Regions from separate parts of the Homo sapiens genome. Here region 2 is linked to region 1. The links are contacts of gene promoters, found by promoter capture Hi-C in blood cells and fetal thymus (Javierre and others, 2016). All regions are on one chromosome and are shown on one strand. Each heading gives the region's core, a stretch centred on a gene start or on the middle of the fragment in contact. The rest is flanking DNA. Distances are from core to core; before and after follow the strand shown.

Evidence for each region. Contacts are between HindIII fragments. The CHiCAGO score rates a contact against its expected background, and 5 or more counts as called.
Region 2: a fragment that was not itself captured here is called in contact with the fragment with the promoter of ATG9B in region 1 in 1 of 17 cell types (non-activated CD4 T cells); the score reaches 5.2 in non-activated CD4 T cells.

The regions. Positions count from the first base shown.
Region 1 is chr7:151,022,251-151,027,283 of GRCh38, reverse strand. It overlaps ATG9B (autophagy related 9B), which reads left to right and starts at 2,790. Exons shown (of 14, transcript NM_001317056.2): 1 at 2,790-3,410; 2 at 3,554-3,597; 3 at 3,775-3,839; 4 at 4,078-4,239. The coding sequence starts at 2,861. It overlaps LOC124901777 (a long non-coding RNA gene), which reads left to right. Exons shown (of 3, transcript XR_007060593.1): 2 at 272-477; 3 at 2,251-2,289. RefSeq lists enhancers at 1-65, 66-669, 1,275-1,879. The HindIII fragment of the contact is 8,592 bases long and covers 1-4,347 here.
Region 2 is chr7:150,437,568-150,442,600 of GRCh38, reverse strand. LINC00996 (long intergenic non-protein coding RNA 996) reads right to left here. Exons shown (of 4, transcript NR_034033.1): 2 at 1-52. Among named protein-coding and RNA genes, the nearest start is that of LINC00996, 6.4 kb to the right of the region's middle. The HindIII fragment of the contact is 7,363 bases long and covers 1-4,931 here.

The sequences.
Region 1 (5,033 bases), core at 1,541-4,040:
TGAGATTAGGGAGTGGTGATGACTCTTAAGAAGCATGCTGCCTTCAAGAATTTGTTTAACAAAGCACACCGTGCACAGCCCTTAATCCATTTAACCCTGAGTTGACACAGCACATGTTTCAGGGAGCACAGGGTTGGGGGTAGGGTTACAGATCAACAGCATCTCAAGGCAGAAGAATTTTTCTTAGTACAGAACAAAATGGAGTCTCCTATGTCTACTTCTTTCTACACAGACACAGGAACAATCTGATCTCTCTTTCTTTTCCCCACAGTCACGTGTACTTGGGGAAGAACTCCCCCGGTGATTCTGACACTCTTGCCCTACGCCTCAGCCATTGAGAACTATTGGTATGGAGGGCCTGTAATTTATCAAGGCGCGGCCTCAGATCTGTCTGCCTCGCAGATACCTTCCTCACCCGGGTCAGAATGACTTGCCTCAGGCTCCTGCCAAAGAGTTTGCACCACTCGTTTCTTCCCTGTAATTACTTGTTTGCGTATTTGTCTCCCCACTGGGCTGCAGCTTCTTGGGTAGTGGCTCTGTTTTATTCATCTGTCCTCTTCCCTTCCAAATGCTTGGCAAGGAAAAGTGCCCTTTAAAATAAATCGACTTGAATTGGGAGTGGTGGTAGGGAGGCTGTCAATGAGAATGAATTCAGGGTGAAACTAGGTAGGACAATGTCCCAGGATTAGTTTGGGGTTGAGCTGGGGAGCTCTTGGTGTATGGGGGGGTCCTATTGTGACTATGGTGGAATAGCCACGATACTGAGTGACATTGGGCGAGTGAGGTGGGGGAGAGACTAGACAACACCCCACATAACCCATCTTGACAGATGTCTCAGAAAGATTATGGGAATTTCCTGGCCCCTCTGCAATGTGGGATTCCATTTTGCTACCTCTAGAAGGACAGGGTCTTGTTTTCATAGCTCTGCCTCCTACTCTGAGATAAAGGCATGCAAGACCTGAGCTACTACTACAATACCCCACACAGAAGGAGAAAATCAGGCACATCTGGATTCAAGTTTTGTGGGTGATTCCATGATTGCCTCCAGTGAACAATCTGGGAAGCACAGTGTCCATATCGCCATTTCAGGGGTACTGGCCCCAACATCAGCCCTTAGGCCTAAGCCCTAGAGACCTTGACACCTGGTGGCTGAGTCAGTATCTCAGTAATGGGCTTTAGAAGGAAACCTGGTGATTCAGGGCCTCAAGAATGGCGTTGGGCAAGCCACCAGACCAGCTGCCTGGGTCTCCTCCTCCTTGTTGAGGTGACAACAAGGAACTCAGTTCAGCTCCTCCCTGGGTATCCAAATTATCCTTCCAAGTCCCAGACTCACAGCTGTCCTCCCTTCTGATTCAGCCCTGATGCTTTTCAGGGGGTCCCAGAAGTGGGATCCGGACTTGAGAGAATGTCACAGTTGAAAATGATAAGGATGCAAACGGAATGGAACTTTCAGAGAACCCCAATTTTCTACTCTAAGTTCTCCAAACCAACTCTCAAATCCAAGATAGCTGCCTTTCCTTTCTTCACCTCCTCTTCTTAGTTTTCCCCAACTTGGCTGCAAAGTCAGCCTCCCCTCTTCTCTTCCTTAGCACCTCAGACCAATAAAACATGCAACCTTTTCTTATTCTTTTTAAAAAATTTATTTTTGACCAGGCGCAGTGGCTCACGCCTGTAATGCCAGCACTTTGGGAGGCCAAGGCGGGTGGATCACGAGGTCAGGAGTTCAAGACCAGCCTGGCCAACATGGTGAAACCCCATCTCTACTAAAAATACAAAAAATTAGCTGGGTGTGGTGGCACACACCTGTAGTCTCAGCTACTCAGGAGGCTGAAGCAGAAGAATCACTTGAACTTGGGAGGCGGAGGTTGCAGTGAGCCGAGATTGTGCCACTATACTCCAGTCTGGGTGACAGAGTGAGACTGCCTCAAAAAGAAAAAAAATTATTTTGTTTGTTTTTTAGATTTTGTAGAGATGGTGTTTCCCTAAGTTGCTCAGGCTGGTCTCGAACTCCTGGCCTCAAGTGATCCTCTCGCCCGGGCCTCCCAAAGTCCTGGGATTACGGGTGTAAGCCAACATGCCTGGCCCCTTTACTTCTTCTTTTCTGTTTTGGTCACAAAACATTTCTCTGTTGATCACTGTAGTGTGTGTGTGGAGGGAAGTGGGGGAGGTACACTCTTAAGAAATGAAATAGTTAACATCTTGGTCCTAAGATTTGTTGTAGAGATGGAGTCTTCTCATTCTGTTCCCCAGGCTGGTCTTGAACTCCTGGCCTCAAGCAATCCTCTTTCCTCGGCTTCCCAAAGTGCTGAGATTGATTACAAGTGTGAGGTACTGCGCCCTGCTACAATCCTTTAATAGGATGTTTTTGGGGGGGGTGGCAGGGGGCAGGATCTAGCTCACTGTAACCTATACTGTTCCAGTGTAACCTGCACCAAGCCATCCTCCCACCTCAGTCTCTTGAGTAGCTAGGAACACAAGCACACATCACCACACCTGGCTCTAACACGATTTTGCTTTTTGCTTTTGTCATTTTGGCTGCTGTTCTTTTTATCTTTCATTCATTCAAGGTCTGAAGATGGAGATAATAGGAATCTTCTCATCTCAATGTGCTCTTTGGCCCCTCCTCTTAAACTGATGCCCCTCTCAGGCCCTGAGGGATTTGGCCTCAGGTTGCCCTGGAAGGGGTGTGAGTGATCAGACAGGTGACTGAGAGCTGGGACGCCTGAGGCCTGCCTAGGCTGAGTCACCTAGTAATGTTGTTGTCATTGTTCCTGTTGAAGTCCCAGCTCAGTGTCACAGACCTTTGTGGAAGCAACAACAGCTCCCATCCTTCCAACCTTTCTGGAGAAGCCGTGGCCTGATGGTGAGCCGAATGGGCTGGGGGGGGAGAAGAAGGCGGCTGGGGCGGTGGGGAGATCTGGGGCCCGGATCGGTGCCCCTCCTCCCCATGCCACTGCCACCTCCTCCTCCTCCTTCATGCCGGGGACCTGGGGGAGGGAGGATCTCCATCTTCTCTCTGTCCCCTGCCCCTCATACAAGAAGCTCCCCCTCCTCATTTTCCCCTCCCACCGCAGGGCCCCCTTGCTCAGTGCTACAGGGGACAGGGGCTTCTCAGTCTTGCCACAGTGCTCTCCCTATCCCAGCCACCCCCCCAACACAGGCTCAACCTGCAATGACACCTGCCTCTGCATCTCCCTCCTGGGGATCCCACTCCACCCCACCCCTGGCCCCGGCAACCCCCACTCCCTCACAGCAGTGCCCCCAGGACTCTCCTGGGCTGCGGGTAGGCCCTTTGATCCCTGAACAGGATTATGAGCGGCTGGAGGACTGTGACCCTGAGGGGTCCCAAGACTCACCCATCCACGGGGAGGAGCAGCAACCCCTGCTTCATGTCCCTGAAGGGCTCCGAGGTATGTGTGTGGGTGTGGGTGGGAGAGGGTTAGTGGTGCCTGGGAGCTCCAGTACTTATCCCAGGCTGGGCCTCTGGCAGCGGGTTGAGAACGTGGAGAATTGATCACATGCCAGGGGCTGACACTCTCCCCTCTGTGCCCAGGCTCCTGGCATCACATCCAGAACCTGGACAGTTTCTTCACCAAGATATCCTTTGCGCTAGGCCTGCAGAGGTGGCATGGGAAGGTCCTCTTGGAGCTGGCACTGTTCTTGGCAGGGAGACTCCGTGAGGGCGTCATGGGTGGGAGACTTGTTGGGGCTGAGGGGAGGTGTCCTCAGGAGAGGCCCCCCGTGCCTCAGGCTTGTTCCTTGACACGCAGCCACATCTACAGCTACCACCAGCGGAATGGCTTTGCCTGCATCTTGCTGGAGGATGTCTTCCAGCTGGGGTGAGACGCTTAGCCCGGGCCCGGAACTCGGTCCCCTGGGCCCATGGCTTCCTTCTGTCATTTTGCTTCCTTAATTGTGCCAGCTGCTTCCATCCCATGCTTTCCCGAGCAGCCCAAGGGCTCAGCAGGGGCAGGGTCAGGGAGGATAACCATGGGCTGCTCTGGGGGCTGGGGCAGGAGCCCACCTGGCTGTCCCTGATCACTGCAGCATCCCGGCACCCCCCCTTCCTCCCGGCAGACAATTTATTTTCATTGTCACCTTCACAACCTTCCTCCTTCGATGCGTGGATTACAATGTTCTCTTTGCCAACCAACCAAGTAACCATACCAGACCTGGGCCGTTCCACAGCAAAGTGACCCTGTCAGATGCCATCCTACCCTCAGCCCAGTGTGCTGAGAGGTTAGTGACAACCTGGTGGGGCCCTGGGGGTGAAGCATGGGCAGTGGGTAGAGGAGTAGACGGGAGCCCCACTTTGTCCCGTCATCTAGATCAGCAGTTCTCAAAGCTTTTGGTCTTAGGACCAAAAATACACTTAATATACTTTAAGTTGTACTTAAGTGTATTAAGTTGTACTTAAAGTGTATTAAGTATATCTTTTTTTTTTTTTAAGACAGAGTTTCACTCTTGTTGCTCAGGCTGGAGTGCAATGGTGAGGTCTTGGCTCACTGCAACCTCCACCTCCCAGGTTCAAGCAATTCTCCTGCCTCAGCCTCCCCAGTAGCTGGGATTATAGGCGTGCACCACCACGTGTATTTTTAGTAGAGACAGGGTTTCACCATGTTGGCCAGGCTGGTCTGGAACTCCTGGCCTCAGGTGATCCACCCACTTTGGCCTCCCAAAGTGCTGGGATTACAGGTGTGAGCCACTGTGCCCGGCCTTTTAAGTGTATCTTAATTACAGTGCATTAAGTGTATCTTAATACACTTAAAATTGGTTGAGAATCCTGAAAAGCTTTTGTTTATGGGAGTCGTATCTATCCACATTTTACCTTATAAAAAATTAAAATTAGGCCGGGCATAGTGGTTCACACCTGTAATCCCAGCACTTTGGGAGGCTGAGGCAGGAGGATTGCTTGAAGCCAGAAGTTTGAGATCAGCCTGAGCAACAAAGTGAGACCACATCTCTATAAAAAATAAAAATTAGCTGGGCTTGGTGGTGCGTACCTGCAGTCCTAGCTAAGCCTAGTCAGGAGG
Region 2 (5,033 bases), core at 1-2,500, 580 kb after region 1:
AGATGTGACCCGTTAACCAAAATGGCTTCCATTTTTTCTGCTGCTGCTTCATCTGCAGGCGAGAAGTAGGAAAGTGTTAGAAAAATCAAGCAGCAATCCAGGCATCGCTCGTAGCCACATTCCTCCCTCCTTGCTGGGGTTCATCACAATAGATAGCTCCCTGTGCTTCCACCCGCACACACAACACTGTCGCCCTGGTGGCCCTGCCCTCCCATGTAGGCACTAGCAGGCTCCTGCTCTTTGCCGGAAGAGAGGGATAGAATCAGAAGAAGAAAAGGCCTGAGAGGCGCCTTGACCTTGTTTCCAACAGCATCAGCCTCAGAGAGATGGCCAGAGGAGGGGATGTGAGAACACACATGGCCAGGAAGATGAAGGTAGGGGGTACCCTCAGGCCCCAGAGTTTCCCCTTCCTGCTACCCACATACTTGATGGAATGAGAAAGGCAAGTGAGAGGCAGGCCAGGAAGCCCTGAGAGAAGGGGCCGCATCCCACTTCCCAGCAGCACAGCAAAGGTGCTGGGAGACCCCTGAGAGAAGTGGCTCCCCAGGGATCCTGGGCAGGCAGCACAGGGGCCTCAGCGCAGATTCCCACACCCCAAGCTCCCTGTGGAAGCTGAAAAGAAAGGCAGACCCAAGAGGCCAGTGGGCCAGGACTAAGGACTGGTGAAAGGCACTCCTGAAGACCTGCAAGGGGTAAGGGGAAGGGGAAGAGGAAGCAGAAGGAGAAGGAGAAGGGGAAGGGAAGGGAACAACAAATATCTCTTATGAATATAGATGTGTGGATGCAAAAGTCCTCAACAAAATGCTAGCATACCAAATCCATAAATATAGAAAAAGAATTATACACCATGAAAAAGTGGGAATTATCCCAGGAATGCAAGGTTGGTTTAACATCTGAAAATCAATTAATGTACTACACCATATCAAAAGACTTTTAAGAACACACACATACACACACATAACCATCTCAACAGATACAGAACAAATATTTGACAAAATCTAATGCTTTTTTGTAATGAAACACTTCATAAACTAGGAATGGAAGGAGACTTCCTCAATTTGATACAAGGAATCTACCAAAAAACACACAGATAAAATTATACTTAATAGTCAAAGATTGGATGCTTTCCCTCAAGATTAGACACAAGCCAAGGATGGCTGTTCTTGCCACATCTATTCAGCATTAAGTAGACATTCTAGCCAGGGCAATTAAGCACACACACAAAAAAGGCATCCATATTTGAAAGGAAGAAATAAAACTATCTCTATTCACAAATTACATAGAAATTTTCTACACAGAAAATCCTAAGGAATCTACTAAATAAAACTATTAGAATTAATAAGTAATTTCATCGAGCTTACAGGATACAAGGTCAATATACAGAACCAATTATATCTCAAAACAATGCACAATCTGAAAATAAAGTTGAAACAATTCCATTTATAATAGCACCAAAAAGAACAAGAGAAATAAATTTAATAAAAGTTTAAAATTTATACTTTAAAGACTATAAAACGTAGTTGAAAGAATTAAAGGTCTACATAAATGAAAAATATACCATATTCACGGATCAAAAAACTTAAGATTGTTAATATGGCAATACTCCCAAAATTGATCTATACATTCAAGAAAGCCCTATTAGAATCCCAGGTGGCTTCTTTGTAGAAGTTAACAAGCTAATTCTAAAATTCATATAAAAATTCAAGGGACCTAGACTAGCCAAAATACTCTGACAAAAGAACAAACTGGAGGATTCATACTTCCTGATTGCCAAACTTACTACAAAGCAGCAGTAATCTAGATAGTGTGATACTGAGATAGGGATAAACATATAAATCAATAAAATAGAGCTAAGAGTCCAGAAATAAACCCTCACATATATGGTCAATTAATTTTCAACAAGAGTGCCAAAACCATTCAATGGGGGAAAAACGTAGTCTTTTCAACAAATCATACTGAGATAATGGGATAGCCACATATAAAATAATGACATTGAACTCTCGCTTCACACCATATACAAAAATTAACTCAAGATGGATCAAAGACCTAAACATAAGAGCTAAAACTATACAACTTTTAGAAAACATGGTCGCAAATCTTCATGATTGGATTTGACAATAGGTTCTTAGATATGACATCAAAAGCATGAGCAACAAAAGAAAAAATAGATAAATTGGGCTTTATCAAAATCAGAACTTTTGTACTTCAAAAGACACTACTTAAAAAGTGAAAATACAAACCACGGAATGAGAGAAACATTTGAAAATCACATATCTCATAAGGAACTTGTCTCTAGACTATATAAAGAAATGTTATGACTCAATAATAAAAAGACAAATTACCCAATTTTTTAAAATGGGAAAATGATATGGATAGTCATTTCTCCAAAGAAGTCCCACAAATAGCCAAGAAGCACATGAAAAGATGTGTAACATCATTAGTCATAAAGGAAATGCAAATCAAAACCAAAAGAGAACACGACTTCATACCCACAAGCATGGCTGTAATCAGAAAGTCAGATAACAAGAGAGTGAGGATCAGGAGAATGTGGAAGAGGTGAGAATGTGGAGAAATTGGAATCTTCATACATCACTGGTGGGAATGTAAAATTGTGCAGTCACTTTGGAAAACAGTCTAGCAGTTCCTCATATGGTGAAACATAATCAAATGATCCAGCAATGACATTCCTACGTATTTACCCAAAAAAGGAAAACATGTCTACTCAAAAAGTAGTACATGCATGTTTGTAGCAGCATTATTTATAATAGGCAAAAAGTGGAAACAACTCAACGTCAACTGATAAATGGATAAACAAAATGCAGTATTTCCATACAAGAGGATATTATTTGGCCCTAAAAAGGGATGAAGTACTGATACATGATCCAACATGGATGAACCTTGAAAACATTAGGCCACCTATTATATGATTCCACTTACTTCAAATGTTCAGATTAGTCAAACCTATAGAGACAGAAAGTAGATGAGTGGTTGCTTAGAGCTGGGAGGAGATGGGAGGATGAAGAGTGATCCTTAAAGTACAGAGTTTCTATACAAGGCGATAGAAATGTTATGAGGCTGACTGTGGTGCTGGGTTGCACATATCTGTGAATATACTAAAAACTATTGACTTGTACACTTTAAATGGTTGAATTTTGTGGCATGTGAATTATATCTCAAAACTGTCATAAAACAAATGAGATTTCCCTATGCCCATTTTCCTTACTGCTCTGCAATTCCTGCCACAGGTGACGCTTCTTTCTACCCTCCACATCACTCTTTTTGAAGGTGCCACAGATTCCAGCCCCAGGGTCAGCCTAGACAAAATAAGGAGGATTGACTGTGGTCTGGAGCTGGATCAGGGTATTCCTGGGTTCCTAATACAATATCATCTTTTTAAAACAAGGTATTGCACAGTGTGTGAACAAGCATGGAAAATAACCCGTGTACTCAACACCCAGCTCATTAAGTCTAAGCAGTTTGTCATTTTTGCTCCAGATTTTTTAAGTGAAAATATTTCAGATACAGCTGTAGCCCTTTATATACCCTTCCAGTGATGAACCTACAGGCTGCTTCCAATTTTTCCTACTACAAATAAGGTTACAATTAACACAAATACAGATGAGAGCTCCCCTGGAGTCTATACTGTAAAGTTAAATTTCTTTGTCCTAGGGAATGCACATTTTTAAATTCACTGGATATCATCACATTGCTGTCCTGTTTATAAAAACTTACATTTGTGTTTGACAGTGGTTGATAGTTATCATTTCTCTACATCTTCACCAATAGCTGGTATTATCAGACTTTATTGCCAGACTGGTGGGTGTGAGATGGTATCAGATTGTTTGATTAGCTGTGAGGCTGAGCATGCTTTAAATGTTTAAATGTCTTCTGTGTCTTGCCTGTTCATATCCTTTGCCCAATTTTTTATTGGGTTGTCTGCACATTCCTTATTAAGTTATAGGCATTTGATATGCTGTATGTTTCTTATATCCTATATTTTATGTTCCACATTTTTATATGTTCTTCTTTTTTATTTTTGAGACAAGATCTCATTCTGTTGCCCAGGCTAGTGTGCAGTAGTGCAATCTCGGATCTTTGCAGCCTCGGCCTCTTGGGCTCAGGTGATCCTCTCAACTCAATCTCCCAGGTAGCTGTGACTACAGGCTTGCACCACCATGCTCAGCTAATTTTTGTATTTTTTTGTAAGATGGGCTTTCGCCATGTTGCCCAGGCTGATCTCAAACTCCTGAGCTCAAGCAGTCCTCCCACCTCGGCCTCCCAGAGTGCTGGGATTATAGGTGTGAGACACCACATCCATTTTTCTATGTTCTATGTACAAATAGTCCCTGACTTACACTTAGGATTGTTTGACTTACAATTGTTCAACTTTACAATAGTAGAGAGCGATATGCATTTAGTAGAAACTGTACTTTGCATTTTGAATTTTGATCTTTTTCCAGACTAGCAATACGCAGTACAATACTTTCTCATAACGCTCCACAGTATTTCATAAATTCCATGAGATTTTTCAATACTTTATTATAAAATAGGCTTTGTGTTAGATGACTATTGCCCAACTATAGGCTCGGGTGGTTGTTCTGAGCATGTTTAAGGTAGGCTAGGCTAAGCTATGATGTTCCATAGGTTAGATATATTAAATGCCTTTTCCATTTATATTTTCAACTTACAATGAATTTATCAGGACATAATCCCTTCGTAAATCAAGGAGCATCTGTACTAATAATTCACTATTTTATGCTTTGCAGGTGTCTTTTCAAAGTCTGTGGCTTGTATTTTGATGTAGTTTATAATGTCTTCTATTATACAGAACTTTGATCTGGTCAAAATTATCAATATTTTCTCTTATGATTTGTGCTTTTTTTGTGTACCTTAAAAACTGGAAAATCTTCCTCATATTTCTTCTGGAAGCTTTATTTTTTTTCACAGTGGAATTTTTTGTGAATAGAGTGAGATAAAAATGTAATTTTATGACCGGCCCGGAGGCTCACGCCTGTAATCCAAGCACTTTGGGA